Linked DNA regions of Homo sapiens: all the other regions are linked to region 2. The links are contacts of gene promoters, found by promoter capture Hi-C in blood cells and fetal thymus (Javierre and others, 2016). All regions are on one chromosome and are shown on one strand. The core of a region is centred on a gene start or on the middle of the fragment in contact, and the rest is flanking DNA. Distances in the headings are between cores, read along the strand shown. Region 1 holds the start of C1orf174 (chromosome 1 open reading frame 174). Region 2 holds the start of VAMP3 (vesicle associated membrane protein 3). Region 3 holds the start of MTOR (mechanistic target of rapamycin kinase).

Region 1 (3,090 bases), core at 217-2,716, 3.9 Mb before region 2:
CCCTGCTGGCTAAGGAAATGACCACAGACAGAAAGTAATAATGATAACACAGTACTGTTGAGTTTGTAACATTATCAGATGTAATACATATAACAAAATACCACAAAAATAACCATATAAGAGTAACATTTCTGTATCACTTGGAATTAACCTAGTACAAATCTGAAGCTTAAGATGTATATGGAGAATATGAAGATTAAGCTGTATACGGTAAAACATAAAGCACTGGAAAAAACCCAAAAAAGTTGTGGAAAAAAAATCATTAAATTAAAATGCTACATTAGGAAATATTCACTTTAATCCACTTAAAGAAGGAACAGGGGAAGAAAAAGACAGACTTGTATAAAGAAAAGAAAAAGTAAAATGGCAAATGTAAACCTAACTACAGTGTATCAATAATATTAAATGTGCATGGGCTAAACAATTCAATCAAAAGGCAGAAACTACCAGACTGCATTTTAAAAAAGATCCAAGTATATGTGCCTACAGGAGACAAGTTTTGGTTCAAAGATAAAAATAGTAAAAGGAGTTGGAATTCACAAGTGGCCACTCCATTTGAACAAACCAGGAGAGCCTCCATGCAGCTCAGAGCCTCCCAAGTGGACCGGGACCCGCGCCGGGTCCACTGTGAAAAGGGTCCTTCGCCTTAACTGTTACACCCACGCAATGAGCACTTGCCCCTTGCCAGACACTGGCACCCCCCTTCAATCCTCACCACCCTCTTGGTGGATCCCTCATCACCCCACTTTTAGCACATTCAGTAGATGGGGCCAAGCTGAGGTCACTTGCTGTGTGACGTCCATTGGAGTGGCAGCAGTTGAGGGGCACAAACTCAGCTCTGCAGCATCTAGCACTACCAGGAGTTGAAACCAGTTCTGGAGAGGGTGCCCCACCTTCCTAGGAAAGTGGCCCGAAACCTCCCTTCAAGGGGGCGTGACCTGGGAGCCCCCTGTTGCCCAGGACGTGAACTGTGAGCTCCACTTCTCCCGAGGGCGTGGACCGGAGCCCCCCTTCTCCCGCGGGCATGGCCTGGGAGCTCCCCTTCTCTCGGGGGTGTGGCCCAGAGGCCCCATTCTGCGGGGGTGGGTAACCTGGGAGCCCCCTTCTCCCGGGGACGTGACCTGTGAGCTCCACTTCTTCCGAGGGCGTGGCCCGGAGCCCCCTTTTCACAGGGGCGTGACCTGGCAGCCCTCCTTCTCCCGGGAGCGTGGCCTGGAGCCCCCCAACTACTGCCGGGGGCGAGGCCCAAGCGGAGGCCGCTCCTAGGCCACAGGCACCCCGTGACCCCGCCCCGGTTCTCCAGACAGCAGGTGACCCAGAGTCCCCGCCCTGCCCGGCGCAGCTGCTGCCGGGACCCAGCCCTCACCTTCCGGCTCCTCATGAGTGTGAGCACCGCAGCCAAGCACCGCGCGCCCCGGCCAACGCGTCCCGGCGGAGCGGCGACCCGGAGTCTGCAGAGCGCGCCGCGGCGGCGTCCGACGTCAGCACAGCCAATCACAGTGCAGCACCCTCGTCATGTGATTCCCCCCCCCCCCCCCCCCGTGTTGGCTCTTTCGTAAGCGGCGGGCGAAGGTCACAGGCCTTGGGCCAGTGGTGGGACACTGGAGCAGGAAGTCGGCCTGTGGCCGGCCATGTTCATGAGGGCGCGTCCCTTGGCACCCCTGTAGCCGCTATGTTTCCCACGCCCGTGGCAGGCCTGAGAGATTATGTTTGCGGGGGGTGCTTTTTTTGTAGCTTCTGTGTTCGCCATATTTGAAAGGGGCAGACGGCCATGTTCGTGAACGGCGCTTCCCTTGGTGCACCTGTGGCCGCCATGTTTGAGCGAGGTGGGCAACTATGTTCTTGAGGGGGGAGCAACCATGTTCTTGAGGGGCTCTTCCCTTGAAGCCTCTTTGGCCACCATGTTTGAGAGGGGCAGACGGCCATGTTTGTAAGGGGCGCTTCTCTTGGTGCGCCTGTGGCCGCTATGTTTGAGAGGGGCAGGCAACCATGTTCGTGAGGGGCGCTTCCCTTGAAGCCTCTTTGGCGCCATGTATGAGAGGGGCGGACGGCCATGTTTGTGAGGGGCTCTTCCTTTGGTGCGCCTGTGGCCGCCATGTTTGAGAGGGGCGGGCGGGACGTCCGTGAGGGGCCCCTCCCCTTGCATCCCCTGGCTAACAGCCTGCAGGAGGGCGGGAAGTGCTTTCTCCAGTGCCGCAGAGCGCTGGTTTCTGAGTGCCGGTTAGCGGCCTTGAGCAGCGCGAGGGACTCCCAGGCCTGCCCGTGCTGCGGTCCCGCTGGGGAGCTTTGCGCGCTTGTCGCAGGCTGTGCTGCCCCGCGACATGCCGCTTTGGGTTGGGGTGGCCCGCCCGGGAAGTGGCCTCAGCTGTCCCCCACGTTGCGGGCGGGAGGGGGCCTTAGTGGAGGCCGTCGGTGGGCCCAGGAGGCCAGGGTCCGGCGTCGGGCTGGGGGCCGGTTTTCGTCCCCCGTTACGTGCAAGGCGGGAAATGACCCCTCCGCCGTCCCGTTACTCTCCGGGGCCAACGTGGACTCGCAGGGGCCACGCCTTTTCCAATGGCCACGCCCCTAGCAGGCCTGGGTGGACCCGCAGCGGCCACGCCTCCTCCAATGGCCGCGCCCTATCAGGTCTGGATGGACACACGGCGGCCACGCCTCCTCCAGCAAACACGCCCCTAGCAGGCCTGGGCTGCTGTGATGCGTCCTCTTTGGCCGCCGCTGAGGGAGGTGTTTGTAAAGCTGAGGACCACTGTTCTGTTGTGGGTTTTTTTGTTTGTTTGTTTGTTTTTTGAGACGGAGTCTCGCTCTGTCACCCAGGCTGGAGTGCAGTGGCGCGATCTCAGCTCACTGCAACCTCCGCCTCATGGGCTCAAGCCATTCTCCTGCCTCAGCCTCCTGAGTAGCTGGGATTACAGGCAGGCGCCACCACACCTGGCTAATTTTTGTATTTTTAGTAGAGATGGGGTTTCATCATGTTGGTCAGGCTGGTCTCGAACTCCTGACCTCAAATAATCCGCCCACCTTGGCCTCCCAAAGTGCTGGGATTACAGGCGTGAGCCACCGTGCCAGGCCCACTGTTCTTTTCTTTTCTTT
Region 2 (2,810 bases), core at 238-2,737:
CAGATGTAATGTTTTGACATTGAATGTTACATTGTTTCAGCTAGGTCCATGAAAGAAAAAATGTCTTCCAGCCACCATTCAGAGAGCTTTTCCCCTATCTTTCCAGGCACCTCTCAACATGTCAATCATTTGTGTAAGGCAGTGCAATTATTTGAAAGATAAAGACATTAATTTAATTCACCTTTTCAGTTACAATCCTCTAAAGTCTTCTAAAAGGCATTTTCCAGCAGATTACGAACGTCGTCCTTTCTGAGTATTGTGTCATCGCCGCTCCCTTCCCGTTCACTGCAGAGCCTCTCCTTATCTCCCTAGTGCTCCCTCTTCCATCTAATCCATCTGGCCACTACTGCCAGAGAAATTTTGCATCATGGATCTCCCACGTCCGTAAGTCAATGGTTTCCAGGGCCCACTACAATTAAATGACATTTTTCTTGTTTGTTTATCCTCTTTATTCAGTCTTCTTTTCACTTGTACCCAACCTGCACCCTCTAGGTGGTCTGTGCACACTGCGTCCATTTTCACTGCTGTCTTTGTTCATGGTGTTTGCCCAACCCTTACTTGGAAAGTTCTTTTCCACTAGTACCCAGCTCAAATCCCACCGCCTTTGTGACACTCGTTTATTCGATATATACTAACGTTTCCCTTTTCAAAGTATTCTATTTAGAGTTGGAAAAAACAGCATAGTATTTAAGTACTGTATTTTTCACTTCTCATCTAAGAGACCCACCAATGACCTATTAGTGTTTTATTTTTTGGTGTAGGTAACTATGTTGGTAGGAATATTTCAGTAACAAATATATACAAGGTAACTCACTGCGTTCAGATTTGTGCTTCCCTCCCTTCGACCAAAACCTGAGGACCTATTCTGTGCTAGGGCCTGAAAATACAGAAATAAAGGAACTACAGCCTTGATGCCAAGGCTCTCGTAAGCAGATTATAATATGATCTGCAGTGACAAATATTTGTGTCACCGATGAAAACATGAGCGGGAACCTCACCCAACACCATGTGACAAATACCCGAAATGGACTTCCTATTTCAACTACTTTAGAGAAACATGGTGCCCTCAGGATCACTAGGTTACTCTGGAACACTCAGCAGAAGCCAGTCATCTGTCTCTAATACTGTTAGAAATGGTCCCGAGCCCAGAATAACATGAATTGCCCCCACCCTCACTTATCCACGCAGTCCCTCGCCAGTGGCTAATGCACCACGTTTACAGACCACGTCCCCAAGCGCCAGCGCGGACGGCGGTGCGGACAGGGAGCTGTATTGACCTGCGTTCTGCGTTTCAGAGCCCGGACCGCCCTGGGACCCCTGTGGCCCTCAAGTTCCCAAGTGACCTCGTCCGGGGAGGGGACGTCTCGCTCTGACCCCGCCCTGGACGCACCCACCCACGACGCCCCCGCCCACTTCCGGCGCGCCCCCTCTTCGCCCCGCCCACTCCCCCGGCTCCGCCTAGTGACGTCTTTGCCCCGCGCCGCGCCGTCCCACCCATCTCCCTGGCCTCCGGTCCCAACTTCGCTTCTCTGCTGACCCTCTCTCGTCGCCGCTGCCGCCGCCGCAGCTGCCAAAATGTGAGTGACGCTACGCGACGCGGGCGGCTTCGGGCCCCGCAGGCGGCAGCTCGCGCTGGGACCGCCATACTGCCCAGTTGCCGCCGGCCGCCACTCGGACGCAGGCCGGGGCTGCGCGGGGATCCCGAGGCCTGGGGGTGGGCGGTGGCCCTTGGGTCGCGGGCTGCAGACGGGCCGGGCGGGTCCCGCGGCCATCGGGCGGACGCGGAAGGGGCAAGGGCGGGGCGGCGAGACGCTTCCCGGAGGAAGTGAGCTGCCCGCCCGCAGCCCGCTCCTCGCCCCTTCCCTTTCTAGTCCCCGACGTCCCTGAGAGGAATGGGGACGACAGCCCTGGTTCGGGAGCGCCCGCTCTCGGCCCGGTGCTGCGCTGGGCCCCAGAAGTTGCGAAAGAAAGGACCTCGGCCCTGTCCTGAGCCCCTGTGGGCCGAAGAGCTCCTTGCCTAGCTAGGGGCATCTGCACTGGAAAGATCACTTAACCGTGGGCCTTCGCTCTCTTAAGCGAAAGCACGTTGCAAACCCCTGCTTCCAGTGGTAAGACTCAGAGAATGCTAATGGTTAAGAATCACAAGGACTCCCTCTTCCACCTCCATTCTGCTCATTGCTCACCGTCGGAGGAAGCCCCGGGTTTCTTCCAGGAGCTGGGGACCCCCCTCGAATGTTCCTGCTGAGGCTGCTGTGCCAATAGATCACAGTGGTTAAGATCTAGAGCCAAGGTACACAGGACCTGATCTAAAAACAAGCTGTCCTGCAGCCAGCTGTGTTGACTCTCTAAACCTCACTTTACTCATTTGTAAAATAGGAGTAATATTCCCCTCAGAGAGTTATGAGGGTTAAAGGAGGAAAAGCATGGAAAGAGTCTAGCGCCACGGCATGGTCCTTACTTATCTACCAGATACTAAACTCCGTGAGGACGGTGATGAGATCTGTTGTAGCCCTGGTCATTGACACATGACAGATGTAAAGTGACTGTTCAAACAGCCCATCAGACTGTTGTATACCAAGGCACATGCTAGGTGCTATCTAGGATACAGAGAAGAGAGTAAGAAGACCCAGGAACCTGTGATCTATTCGAGGAGGCGGGACTTTATACCTGAAAAACCAAAGTGATACTTTCCAAGTAATGGAGCCAATAATGACTTCAGAGTCAGAGTGGTTAAGAAAGATCTGCATGGGGAGAAATAAAGCCTTTGATGAAGATTTTAAAAGATGAGTACCTTCCTGGGCCGGGCGCGG
Region 3 (2,700 bases), core at 201-2,700, 3.5 Mb after region 2:
CACATTTCAAGTGCTCCACAGCCACATGTGGCTGGTGGTTCTTGTACTGAACAACGCAGTTCTACAGGGGACTAGCTCTTCAAATGTAAGCTAAAAGAAAGTAATTAGTTCCTGGCCGGGTTTGGGAGGCCGAGGCGGGCGGATCACGAGGTCAGGAAATCGAGACCATCCTGGCCAACACGGTGAAATCCCGCCTCTACTAAAAATACAAAAAAAAAAAAAAATTAGCCGTATGGTGGCGGGCGCCTGTAGTCCCAGCTACTCGGGAGGCTGAGGCAGGAGAATGGCGGGAACCCGGGAGGCGGAGCTTGCAGTGAGCAGAGATCGAGCCACTGCACTCCAGCCTGGGCGACAGAGCGAAACTCCGTCTCAAAACAAAACAAAAAACACCAATTAGTTCCTGAGCTCATTCCCTCATTCCTCAATTATGCCCACACTGCCATGGGTGTAACATACACCTATCCCAAGTATGTTCAGCTTATGCTACAAAACCAATTTCTCAAAATTCTTATTTTTGAAAGAATTTGTAAGGCACAGAGGAAAAACCTGGGAATAATTGGTTTTGTAAAGCTTTCAAATACTCCACTGCCAAGAAGAAGACTGCAGAAAGAAATGTCATCCTTTAGGGGAGAAGAAACTTAAGAATCCCTGCTAAGAAAACTACTCCAGTTTGTGTGTATGTGTGTGCGTCCGAAAGGGGGGAAGGTGGCTGGCAAGGGATTTCTATTCTCAGGAAAGAACCAGTGTATCTTTATATGATCTGAGGCCCACAGGCCATCTGCTCCAGACTGAATTCAATTAAACTTAGGATATCTGAAGTCAAATATCCTAATGGTGTTGATAGGGCTTAAGGAAGTTAAGATTGGATGGGGGAAACAGGGATGGGGCTGGGGGAGAGGGAGAGAAGATGTACCCCAACGATGTAACCAAGCTCAGTTTCGGGGACTGGATCTCTGAGAGGTGTCCACAGTGGAGGACAAGGGGCTGACACGGACGCTAGTGTTCCCTGGGGCAGAGATACACAATTTTTATACGTGGCTCAAAAGAAAGGGTGGCTGTGACAGGCAAAAGACCCAAAGGGCAATACCAGAGCTGATGGGCCGGCCTTCGGGCGGACGTACCGCGGGCCGAAGGGTCCAGGGGTCTCTTGGGGGTCCCGGGGAGGTGGGCGTTGCCTCGAGGGGTGGGAGTCAAGGCCTCAGACGGTGCCCAGGTCGTGGGGCCGGCAATGTGGGGACCCCACGTCCCAGACGGGCGGCTTCCCCTGGCCCCCCCACGGGCAGGCTGGCCGTGGGTCTGGACATTACGCCGCCCTAGAGGGGTCGTGCCAGGCCCTAGACTCACCGCGCGGCTTCGGCCAAGGCCTCAGCTGCCGCCGCCAGCACCGGTACCGCCGCTTCAGGCCCCCTGCCCCACCGCCCGCCTTCCCCGCTGTCCTCTAAGCCGGGAGCGAGGGAAGGAGGGTTCCCAGCCCTGAGGACCAATCGACAGGTATAGGGAGAAGATGGACTGAAAAACAGGCCAATAGTAATGAAGAAGAGAAGCTTCAGGACCCGGCTTCTCCAGGGGGCGGGGACTGTTCAAATAGACAAACCACGCGGCCAGTGGCAGGTGAAAACAGGCTTGGGTCCACTCGGGAGAACCAATCGGTCGTGAGTTCACCTCAGTCACTTCCACTCACACATCCGGTACGGCGCTGCTAGGATTCCCTTCTGCATCCGGGCTGTGAACTCAAGGAGTCCGGTGTCTGGGTATCTCCGGATCGCAGCGAGAGCGGCTAGCAGAGGTTCGCGACCCCTCCCGGTGTAATTCTGAGAGGAGAATGTGAGCGATGCCGGTGCCCAGGAATTACTGCATCAAAAGACGTTTCGGGCTAGCGCTCTTTATGGATCCTGTGATATCTCTTTTGTTACAATTAATAAGCATTTGAAAATGTTTTTAATTAGATTCTCTAACTTTCCCAAAATTATCCAACTCAGGATCACTCCAGAGAAACCATAGCCAAGTTTTAACCAAAAGAGCTAGTCATAAATAAAAATTTTCAAAGCAACATTATTTTTTAAAAATCCTTTCAAAAAATCAATAGCTGGCCCGGCGCGGTGGCTCACGCCCATAATTCCAGCACTTTGGGAGACCGAGGCAGGCGGATCACCGTAGGTCAGGAGTCGAGACCAGCCTGGTCAACATGGTGAAATTCCCCCACCCGCACCCCCCGTCTCTACTGAAAATACAAAAATTAGCTGGGCATGGTGGCTCACGCCTGTAATCCCAGATACTCGGGAGGCTGAGGCACGAGTATCGCCTGAACCCGGGAGGTGAAGGTTGCATGCACCGAGATCGTGCCACTGCACTCTAGCCTGGGCAACAGAGCAAGCTCCGTCTCAATACATACATACACACACACACACACACACACACACACACACACACACACAACCAAAGAAAATAAATAACTGCTGGTCACGGTGGCCCACGCACTTTGGGAGGCCAAAGCAGGAGGATCGCTTGAGGCCAGGAGTTCCAGACCAGCCTGGGCAACATAGCGAGACGATGTCTCTACAGATTAAAAAAAAAAAAATCAACAGCAAAAGTGGATTTGACTACATTTTTTTTTAATCACAGTGCTATTTGTCATAGTAAACACTGAAAATTCCTAAATATTTCAAAGTAGGAGTCCAATAAAATATGATGCATTCGTTT

Evidence for each region. The method cuts DNA at HindIII sites, captures the fragments that hold promoters and counts their contacts. A CHiCAGO score of 5 or more calls a contact.
Region 1: the fragment with the promoter of C1orf174 here is called in contact with the fragment with the promoter of VAMP3 in region 2 in 1 of 17 cell types (M0 macrophages); the score reaches 6.0 in M0 macrophages.
Region 3: the fragment with the promoter of MTOR here is called in contact with the fragment with the promoter of VAMP3 in region 2 in 2 of 17 cell types (total B cells and fetal thymus); the score reaches 6.9 in total B cells.

Annotation. Positions count from the first base shown.
Region 1 is chr1:3,898,806-3,901,895 of GRCh38, forward strand. C1orf174 (chromosome 1 open reading frame 174) reads right to left here and starts at 1,467. Exons shown (of 4, transcript NM_207356.3): 1 at 1,367-1,467. The coding sequence starts at 1,381. It overlaps LINC01134 (long intergenic non-protein coding RNA 1134), which reads left to right and starts at 1,599. Exons shown (of 4, transcript NR_024455.1): 1 at 1,599-1,826. RefSeq lists enhancers at 559-1,129, 1,130-1,698, 1,699-2,268, 1,908-2,167 and silencers at 1,218-1,287, 2,368-2,547. The HindIII fragment of the contact is 4,148 bases long and covers 167-3,090 here.
Region 2 is chr1:7,769,809-7,772,618 of GRCh38, forward strand. It overlaps VAMP3 (vesicle associated membrane protein 3), which reads left to right and starts at 1,488. Exons shown (of 5, transcript NM_004781.4): 1 at 1,488-1,577. The coding sequence starts at 1,576. RefSeq lists enhancers at 692-1,388, 1,132-1,181 and silencers at 1,415-1,657, 1,622-1,851. The HindIII fragment of the contact is 4,711 bases long and covers 1-2,810 here.
Region 3 is chr1:11,261,101-11,263,800 of GRCh38, forward strand. It overlaps MTOR (mechanistic target of rapamycin kinase), which reads right to left and starts at 1,451. Exons shown (of 58, transcript NM_004958.4): 1 at 1,345-1,451. RefSeq lists a silencer at 1,169-1,218 and an enhancer at 1,639-1,798. The HindIII fragment of the contact is 974 bases long and covers 569-1,542 here.